3 separate regions of the Homo sapiens genome follow, and regions 1 and 3 are each linked to region 2. The links are contacts of gene promoters, found by promoter capture Hi-C in human tissues and cell types (Jung and others, 2019). All regions are on one chromosome and are shown on one strand. Each heading gives the region's core, a stretch centred on a gene start or on the middle of the fragment in contact. The rest is flanking DNA. Distances are from core to core; before and after follow the strand shown. Region 1 has its middle 15 kb from the start of MTIF3. Region 2 holds the start of CDX2 (caudal type homeobox 2). Region 3 has its middle 80 kb from the start of LNX2.

Region 1 (3,319 bases), core at 695-3,194, 500 kb before region 2:
CGAGACTCCGTCTCAAAACTAAAAATAAATAAATAAATAAATAAATAAATAAATAAATAAATAACATTACACATCCCTGCACACACAATGCATACAGGATTTACCATGTGTGCCAGTCAGTTTTCCAAGCACTTTACATATACTGACTCATTTAGTTCTCATTAAAAGATCTATAATTTAGTAATATTGTTTTTATTATGTATCCTTTCATTGGTAAGGAAACTGAGGCCAGAAAGATTAAGTAACTTGTCCAAGGTCACCCAACTAATAGGTGGCAGAGCTGGGATCAGGATTTAGGGAATCTGTCTCCAGAGTCTATGCTCTTAGCTACTGCTCTATAAACGGTAGCTAAAATAATAGTGTCCTAGTTATCTGTGTAATAATAATAATATATTCTTATTCAACTGAATATATACCTAGGTATTTCTTAGTGAGTATAATCCCAGAACTTCCTTGACATCTCAAAAATACTGTTAGAAAGGTGATCATGGAAATCACCTACCATGAAGGAATATTTATACCAGTATTTCTTTCATTCTCAAAATTGTGTCTAGTGTGGAGGAAAGAACTCCATAGTGGGAGTCAGAGGACCTGGATTTATTTCCCAACTCCATATTTTTACCTGCCGTGGGTCCTTGAGCAAGTAATTTTGAGGGTCTGGTCCCTTGCTTTTTCATCCGTAAAATAAGATAATAATGTCACAGAATTGCAACCGTCAAAAAGATAAACTCTTTTGAAAACTATAAAGGAATACACAAATGTAAGAGAGTATTAATCTCTTGATCTCAGGTCTCTCTAAAATACTTAATCTGAGGATTTTTGACTTCTATGTGAAAACTGAAGAGTCCAGGCCGCAAAGGGTTTCCACCCAGCCTTCCCGAAGAGATATATAATAATGAATCTCACAACGCCTATCACTGTAGTTTGTTGTATAAAATTATATTTAAGCAGACTATGTAATAAATGGTATAAAATTCTCAATCTATAGAGCAGATTCAATCATGTTCAACCAAAGCTTTCATTATTAGGATAATGCCCAGCCCACAGCACTTTGGGAGGCTGAGATAGGAGGATTGTTTGAGCACAGGCGGTCGAGGCTGCAGTGGGCTATGATGGTGCCATTGCACTTCAGCCTGGGTGACAGAGCAAGACCCTGTCTCAAAAAAATAAAAAGGGAAAAGAGCTCTGTGACTTTCATTGTTAGGATAATGAAAGCTTTGGTTGAACATGATTGAGTTAGGGTGACTGCTAAAGGTCTCTGCTGAGTATTGGTGATAATCCACAACTGAAACTGATGGTCCGACTCTGATCACTGCTGTCCAGAGTCTGAGGCACATGAGGAGGAAAATGAGGTAAACAACATTCCTCTTAGAATGTTGCTTCAAGAAAGCTCAAGTTTTGGCAGTATGCCCTAGATGACACCTGCTTGCACTGCCAAGTGGCTGCCATTTCTTCTGCTCTTCCCTAGGAAAACAGACAAGCTCAAACAACAGGATGTGCGTATGGTATTCTTAGAGGGGTGGACGCTGAGCAGCTCTCCCGGGCCTGAGGGTCCTCCCGGCCTGCCTCCAGTTGGCATGTTTCTTGAACAGGAGCTCCCTGACAACCTGGGAAAGAGCTTGGGCTTTGCTATCTGGGAAAACTGGGCTTGGGACATTCATTAGCTGTTACTTGGGCAGGTTATCAAATGTTTCTCACTTGTCTATAAAATGAAGATAGTGATTTTAACATATAGCTGGGATGTCTCCTAAATGTTAGATACCACATTAGTATTATTATTATTGCTTTATGATAAAATATTACATGAAGTGCTGTCGGGGGCAGGTTCAGGGTTTCTATAAACTGGTGATGTTGGAACTGCTACAAAAGAACCATGCACCTTGAGTCTGACCTGTAAGAAAGCCTTCAGCAGGACCACAGTGGAGGCCAGGATGGATGAGGCTGAGAGGAAGGTGAAGTTTACGTTTGATGGCCCCTGAAATTGCCTCCCTACAAAGGGCTGTCTTTCCTCTCCCACGTTTTAATGTTGTCTTCCCACCCATAACTCGCCCTTATCTTCTCTTCTGTCTGCATTCTACACCCAGGAAAAATTTCAGGTCCGCACCCGGGGAGATGGTTTTTGACAGGTTGATCATTTGGAACTCTTCCAGTTACATTCTGAAGACATTGCCAACTTCCTAAATGTAGGCCTGATGCCATCCATGGTCCTCTGCTGAGGGTCACATTCCTTCCAGAAGGTCTCAGCTGACAGCCACGGTGTGGCAGTGCTGCCAGAGATCTTATCTGGTGATGTCTGAGCTTTCTGGCACTGTTCTTTTGTGTGGAGGTGGGAAGTGGGGAGGAAGCTGATGAGAAGGAGGGTGGAGACAGGCCGGGTGGTTAGAATTGTGCTCCCAGAGCACAGAGGCTCATTTGAAATATTGATTCCTCTGTGGAGGTCACAGCCCAGCCTTTGCTGTGCTTTCAGAGGGGCTATTTATATATTTTAGTCTTTGTTTCGGAGTTGCCTCTTATATTGGTGACACTCCAGCTTTGCTGAAGTCGTGTTTAAAAAAGAAAGTAGTAATTATTGATTGCACACTCAAATGTGGGGACCAGAATGAACGCAGACAAAGACTTGCAGAGAAGCATTCTACTCCCACTGCTTCAAGGGGAATCTGGAATCCTAAAGCAAGGTTCTTAAAATAAATAAAGGCTTCCATGCCCCTGAAATGCAATAAGGCTATCTTGGGTTTTCAGGTCCATCTTCTGACTTTTGCACTGTGATGTTTTCATCTCTCCTCCTTCACGTGGAACGAAGCCAGGGTGGGGGTGAGGTGGGAGGGGAGCAGAGGTAAACTGAAAGGTTTGATCTTAAAGGTAATCTTTCCTTCTCGCACTCCTGAATTCTCTGCCTCCCTCCCATTCCTACCTTGGCAGTTTATTTACCAGAAGGCTGGAAGCAGTGTCAGAGCCTGGAGATGTCATGCCAGAGACTCAGGACATGCCCAAGTGCTTTCATCCTGCAGCTGAATAAGCAGCCCCAGGTGAGCCCAGCCTAAGAATCAGCAGAAGAATCAACCTTCCGAGCTGAGCACTGATCAATCCTTGTAAACATAAGAATTAATGGAATGGTGGTCGCTTTTTAAAAATTATTTTAAAAATAGAGATGAGGTCTCACTATGTTACAAAGGCTAGCCTCAAGCCATCCTCCTGCCTTGGCCTCCCAAAGTACTGGGATGACAGGTGCGAGCCACCTTGGCCAGCCAGTGGTTGCTTTAAGCTATAAAGTTAGATTGTTATGTAATAATAGATAACCAAAACATAACCCACTAGACTA
Region 2 (3,440 bases), core at 449-2,948:
TCTTTTTCAGTTGCACACACACACTCACAGACATCCCTGACACCCTTGAAAGGAAGCTTTGGGAGAAATGACCCCTACCTGGAGCGGCGGCTTAATTCCCACCAGGGTTTCCTCCCCGTCTCCCTGCTCTCTCCGCAGACGCCTGCCCCTAGGCTTCTTGCCCCTAGCCTTCCAGCTTTTGCTTGAAATGACCCCTTCACAGGTCAGAGGTTCAGAGACGGGGCGCGCCCCCGTCGCCTTAGCAGCTGGGGCTAGCACCTTCTTCCCAGCGACAGCAGCTCTCCCTGGTCTGCCTGCTCGCTGTACCTTGAATTGGCCCGAGTGGCCAAACCCGGTCCCACACACAGCCTAGCCATCCTCCGACCCCCCCAGGTCACTTCTCTTCTTAGATGGCTCAGATGGGGAAAGAGAGAGCGGAGATAAATGGCCTAGACCTAGCCCAAGAAGGTTCGAGCCTCCCTCTCTCCTCGGCGGCCAGGAGCCACGCAAGGAATGCATGCCGCAGCAAGTGCCGGAGGACGCGATTCTGCCGGCGTCCAGCAGTGCTCACGCCGACATTCCCCGGAGCTTCCCGAAGGTGTCCCGGGGTTGCGAATGAGGAGCTCTTGGAAAGAGGACGCCTGAACACGGTGTTGAGACTCAGAATATTCACTCCCAGGCTCAGTAGGTCAGAGAAGCCCCGACGGGCCAGAGGCCCCCGAATTTGTCTCCGGGCCGTGCCCCTCCTGGCGCCGAGCTCCCAGACAGCCCGGGACGCCCCTGTGCGCACTGGACGCGCGACGCGCAGCAGCCACTGGCTCGACCCGCGCCTTCCCAAGCACCCTCCGAAGGGGCGCAGCCTCTGCTTACCTTGGCTGCCGAGGGACTGCTGCGCCGGCTTCCGCATCCACTCGCACAGGTTCCGCCGCTGGCCGCCGGGAGACAGCTGCTCGGCGGCAGCGGTGGCGGCGGGCCCAGGAGGGCCGGGGTTGAGCGTTTGCAGCAGCCCAGAAGCGCAGGAAGGCGCGGCGGCCGGGTGGTGCGGGTGGTGATGCGGGTGGTGGTGCGGATGGTAGTCTGCGGGGCTGCTGTAGCCCATGGCTGCGGCCGGGGAGCCACCGTTGAGGCCGTGAGCCACGGCGTTGGCGGCGGCCGCGGCGCCTCCGGGCGCGTAGCCATTCCAGTCCTCCCGGAGTGGGGCGCCATACGCTGCCGGCCAGGATGGCCCCGGGGACTGCGCGCTGTCCAAGTTCGCTGCCGCTGCAGCTGCGGCCGCCACGTGGTAACCGCCGTAGTCCGGGTACTGCGGGGGGCTGACGAAGTTCTGCGGCGCCAGGTTGAGGCCGCCAGAGTGGCGCACGGAGCTAGGGTACATGCTCACGTCCTTGTCCAGGAGGTAGCTCACGTACATGGTGGCGAGGGTCCGGGAGCAGACCTCACCATGCTGCCTGGGGACCGACGCTGGAGGCTGCCGGGGGGCACGAAGGGAAAGGGGCGAGGGGACTCGAGGAGCGGCGGGTGGCTGCGCCCCAGCCCGCGGTGCTCCGCTGGCTCCTCGCGGCTCTTCTGCCTCCGAGGCGGTCCCTCCCTCTGGCCTGCCTCCTCCCTCCCTCCCTTTCTTCCTTCTTTCCTCCCACCTCCTTCCCACTAGGCTGCAGAGGCGGGGAAGACCCGCCACAGGCTGGCGTGCGGAGCCCCAGGCCGGCGGCCTTCCGTGATTAACGAGTGTTTACAAGACTCTATTAGTAATGACACAGACACCAATGGTTGGAGACGTCGAGGCGCAGCGCGCACTCTACGCACAACCCCTCGAAACATAATTTGCATTTTAAAAGATAAAGGGGAGGGAGGCTCGTGAGAGGGCAGCGACCTGACACAGCTAAATATTCAAACCTTTATTGTTAAGAGCTTCCTCCTTCCAACCTGGTGCACTTTAACCTCCAATCACAGGTTCAAAGAATGAAATCAAGAGACTTACAAAAGAGAGGGGAAGAGAAAAGGCTATCTTGGTAGGAATCTGAGCTTGGAGACAGGAGCAGTGGTTGTTTATGCATTTGCAGGGAAGAGGGCGGTCAAGAAACTCCTTCTGTCCCAAAGAGAAAAGAAAAGAGAACCATTGCTTTGATGAGAACGTTTCTGACCAACCTGGTAGGTGACAAGCAGAGAGCCCTAAGAGATGGGCCATTCCTTCCCGCCCTGTGCTCCTGGCCCGGACGACTGCAGCCCCAAACAACTGTCACCTCCAGTTATTTTCTTGCCCAAGGAAATTACTCGCCCTCCGCACAAGACAAATTATGATCCTAGATTCAGGCTGCATCTCTGACTTCATCTTACATTTGAAATTTGAGTTAAATTCAAGCGATTTATTGTTAAACGTTTACATTCAAGAATCAGAAGTTTTAAACTACAGAAGTAATGGGCATGTGGTAGAAGTTAGGCTAGTGGTTATTGGCGTGCATAACTGGAGGCGAGCTAGGGGATCGTTGGTAAAGCAGTTTCTTAGGCTGCTGGTTACACAGAATGTCAGTTTGTGAAAATTCATTGAGCTACACTTGTATGTTTATTATACTTAAATATAAGGAAAAGAGAATTTCTGCTAATGCTTACCTAGGTATTTATGTGTCTTACATCATACCTGTATCTTTAAAACTCTCTGTCCTTTACAAAGGGAAACGTTCTCCGAAGAAATTTATTTCTCATTTCCAGGAGATGATAAGGCAACTCAGGGCCATTATTAACGACTGCTAATGAAAAGCTCTGAGTTGAGAAAGGATCTCTCTTGGTTTGGGAAGCGCTGCGGCCAAGGGGCCTAGGGCTGGAAGTGGCCGTCTTGGGGACCGAAGCCGCGCAGCCCGGGATCGGGAGCTGCCCCGACAGGAGCGCGGAGGCGGCGAGATTCGGCCCCCGCGCGCGCCCAGCTCGGTTTCAGCAACCGCGTGGAGTGGGCCTGCGGCCGCCGTTCACCTCCTAATACAAGCCTTTGACAGCGCTGCCAGATTCGGGAATGAGGATCACTGCGGCGAGGCCCGGCGGGCTGGGCAGCCTGACTCGGCGGCTTTGAGCGCTCTCAGAACCCGCGGGCGCTCGCGGCACTCCTGGAGACCTGCACTTGTCTGTTCTCATTGTCAAGCGTTTCGCTCGGATATTTGTCACCATCGCCTTCATCCTGTCATTTCTAGGGTGCTCTCCAGTGTCCTTTATCTCCCTTGAGCCTCACATCCCCCTAGGATCTAGAACAAAATCTGGGAGGTGTTTTTATCCTCCCCATTTTACAGGTGACAACCAGCAACTTGCCTCTGCAGACACCTGAAAGCGATCAGAACTAGCCTAGGGCTGCGGGATCCCCTGTTTTCTGGTTCCTCCCACCCTTCGTGTTTGTAAGGAAGAAGGCTGGAAATGGGGGTGGTGGGGTACTCAGGGGCCAAGGAGCTGTGCACTCAAGAGGTGGGAGACCGAGCTGG
Region 3 (3,664 bases), core at 1,006-3,505, 430 kb before region 2:
GCTGCAATGAGCAGTGACTGAGCCACAGCACTCCAGCCTGGTGGGCAACAGAGTGAGACCCTGAAGTCATGTTATTTCTTGATTATGTCCCTGTGTATCTCTGTGTAAGCACAGAGATAGCAACTACTCCGTCCTAAAAACGGATGAATTCTGAGCCTCTAGAGCAGTGCCTGGCACATAGTAGATGCTAAGAGAACATTGGCCAAGTACAATGAAAAGATGAATCAGTAAGTGTTTTGTGTCTTGGGCCTGCCTAATATTCATTTAAATATGAAAAGTAACAAATGAAGAGACATCCCACCTGCCTGGCCTCCTTGTTTCTACACTCTAGCTAGGAAGAGGGACAGGGACAAATTATTACTAAAAAGGAATCACTTACAATTAGACATGCCCAACGGAGGCGATGCCTGGAATGCAGCAGGGAGGTCCCTGTCACGGGAAGCCTTCAAGCAGGAGCTAGATGACCATATCACAGCGGGGACCTGTATACCAGAAAAATGGACAAGAGCTTCCCTTTCTAAGGTTCCATGACTTGGGATCAGCAGGGGGAAAAAGTAGCTCTAGACTGGGGACCTGGATGACACAAGGACATCATATCCTTTGGAATGACTTACATATGACAGGTGACAAGGACTGCCTTTCCTCAAACATTTACTAAGTATCCACAGAGGGAGTTTTGTTGCTGTGAGCACCCCCCATCCTCCACAGGTGCCCATCTATCTCAGCACAGGCCAGGACTCCAGGAGCAGGAGTTTAGCCCACAGCCGCCAAGAGACCAGGCAAGGATCCCAGACTCCAACTCTTTAGGACTGAGCCACGCAGGAAGGAACAGGCACAGAGGGGTGAATCTACAAAGGGCTCTGGGGTATTGCTTCCCTGGTGGGAGAGGCTAGCAGTCAGGAGAATGGGACTAAACACATCCCATGAACTAAGACATTCTCAGGTCATTTCTAGAGGAGGTGAGTGAAAGGAGACCTTTCAATTAAACCTAGGTAAAGTAAAGAAAAACTTCATTTTTTTGAGACAGGGTCTCACTTTGTTGCCCAGGCGGGAGTGCTGTGGCTCAGTCACTGCTCATTGCAGCCTCCACCTCTTGGGATCAATGATCCTCCCGCCTCAGCCTCCCGAGTAGCTGGGACTACAGGTGCACACCATCACGCCTGGCAAATTTTTTATTTTTTGCAGAGATGGGGTCTCCCTCTGTTGCCTCGGCTGGTCTTGGACTCTTGAGCACAAGTGATCCCCCCACTTCAGCCTCCCAAAGTGCTAAGATTACAGTTGGAGTCACCTCGTCCCATCTCAAAAAAAACCTTATTTTTAATAGCTGCCGCCACCCTTACAACCTTGACATTGGACAAGTCGTTGTTGCTTCTCATCTTTTAGAGTCTGGGGAATAGATGTCTCTAACTTAACCGTTCTTGGTCAGCTTTCAGGCAATCTAAAGAAGGGAGTTCTTGTTGAATTCACCCTTAAACTGAAAACTTTTGAAGAAATAAAGCAAATGCTGATCCAAGTTTTTGAAATAGCCCATCTTGAAAGTGTTATTTGCAGGTGAGTGAGTGAATAGAGCTCAAATGGAAATCTCTAAGTGCTTCTCACTCAGCCATGGAGCGAAGCCACCTTCTCCTGATGGGAGGCATGCTCTCTGCCACCTGCGGGGATGGTGTGAGTCCTCCAAGTGCTAGTCTTTTTTTTTTTTTTTTTTGAGGCGGAGTCTCACTGTCACCCAGGCTGGAGTGCAGTGGTGCGATCTCGGCTCACTGCAAGCTCTGCCTCCCAAGTTCATGCCATTCTCCTACCTCAGCCTCCCGAGTAGCTGGGACTACAGGCGCCCGCCACCATGCCCGGCTAATTTTTTGTATTTTTCTTTTTCAGTAGAGACGGGGTTTCACTGTGTTAGCCAGGATGGTCTCCATTTCCTGACCTTGTGATCTGCCCACCTCAGCTTCCCGAAGTGCTGGGATTACAGGCATGAGCCACCGCGCCCGGCCTAGTCTTTTATTCTTGTAGGTGATTAAAGTTTTAGCATTTCTCACTTAGGCACTTTATAGCTATTAGGCACTGTGCTTACATGTACAACTTCACTTCTAAAGAGCTTCTGTGTTGCCATAGAAATTAATTAGTAGTATATTTACACCATAAAATGGCAAAAGAGCTTTCTAACAAGGACCTTAGGGAGCTGAAATCTTTCCCTCAGCAAGAAGACAAGACAGACTTAAGAGAAAAACCTCAACTCATGAATTCCTAGCCTGTTACCAGGGCAGCAGTTTACCATGTTGGTGTGTCATCTATATGGTTTTGTTGATCACCCAAGGTGGACAAATGAAAGAAAATCTGCATTGTAAAAGATGAAATTAGGTGCTGTGAGGAAGTGACCCAGAGCCTCTCACTATGTGTTGTGCACAGCAGGTGCTGGATAAACTGTTTAAACAATTCCATGGAAAAGCAACACAGCCATCACTCGAATGAGCCTGGGTATTTTATAGTGCTTAAGGAAACTTGGAAACAGTATATTTTAGCATGCACTCGAAACATCTCACTTTCCATTTTTCAATGTTGATTAAAGATACTTATTGCTTATATAAAGTGCCAAGTTAACCTCACCTCTCTTTAAGCTTTCAAATTCCAAATTAGTTAAGTCTGAATTAACAGGGCATTAATGTACTGTAACATGGGTGTCAGGCATGATGAAATGGGTGAAGTGCCCACAGAAGCTGAAATTCAGGTTAACTTCAGATTTAATTTTAACCATCCATGTATCTGATTACAGCTTCAAACATGTGAGGAATCATAAAGCAGCAGCCCACTTTCATTTATAAAAGAATGGGTATCAAGTTCTGAAGGTACAGCAACAGAATGAACAGACCTCAGGGTCTTCTAGTGAGAAAAGAGCCACAGCTAGGACAGAGAGGGAGGATTCAGCTGTTTGAGAACTGGTCACTGTGCACAGTATCTTGAGAAAACGAAACCCTCTAAATCTGCCTTCCAAAATTTCCTATGAAAACATGTCTCTGGATTTACAATGCAAGTTGCATTTGCTCTAGAAAAGTTGGTGATAGTGACCTTTGCTGAACTGCCCTTCCCCCAACCCCTCCCATAAAAAGGCAAATTGCTTCAGTGATTTCCAGACTGCTTGGAAACGGGTAATATAATGGTGAAAATGTTGTTGCGTCCCAAGCTTTTATAAAGTCTTTCCTTATATCTGGATTGCAACTTCAACTTTCAGATAGTATGGGTCAGTGTGCTGCCATTAATCCCACTCTGGCCTTCTGTTGCCCACATGTCCTTTGTGGGATGTTACTGGAATGTTAGGAACTATCATAAACTGTGCTTGCATCAGCCTTTCAGTATTTTACATAGCTCAGAAATGAAATCTAACCAAACCCCAACAGTATATAACAATTACAATAACACTAACTGGACAGGAGAATGAGGAGGAGCCACAACACTTGCCACTAAGTCAGACCTCAGGGTGGTTGGAGTCACGTGGTCTCAGGTCCTTGTATTGTGCAGAGGGGACAGAGCTATTGTTCACGTTGAAACTTTATGTTAAATATGCACGAAGAAAAATTCAAGGGTAACTGCAAAGTGAACAGAAACAGAGCTACAATTCGGTAGAAGAAAACATGAAGCACAGAGAGGCAGAGGAAATTAATATAGGGTG

What was found. Contacts are between HindIII fragments. The study calls those that stand out against the background at their distance.
Region 1: a contact is called between a fragment that was not itself captured here and the fragment with the promoter of CDX2 in region 2, in 2 of the 25 tissues and cell types used here (IMR-90 fibroblasts and heart right ventricle).
Region 3: a contact is called between a fragment that was not itself captured here and the fragment with the promoter of CDX2 in region 2, in 1 of the 25 tissues and cell types used here (spleen).

The regions. Positions count from the first base shown.
Region 1 is chr13:27,464,403-27,467,721 of GRCh38, forward strand. No RefSeq gene overlaps it. Among named protein-coding and RNA genes, the nearest start is that of MTIF3, 15 kb to the left of the region's middle. The HindIII fragment of the contact is 4,528 bases long and covers 1-3,319 here.
Region 2 is chr13:27,967,617-27,971,056 of GRCh38, forward strand. CDX2 (caudal type homeobox 2) reads right to left here and starts at 1,699. Exons shown (of 3, transcript NM_001265.6): 1 at 850-1,699. The coding sequence starts at 1,390. RefSeq lists an enhancer at 934-1,625. The HindIII fragment of the contact is 6,465 bases long and covers 1-3,440 here.
Region 3 is chr13:27,538,270-27,541,933 of GRCh38, forward strand. No RefSeq gene overlaps it. Among named protein-coding and RNA genes, the nearest start is that of LNX2, 80 kb to the right of the region's middle. The HindIII fragment of the contact is 4,687 bases long and covers 1-3,664 here.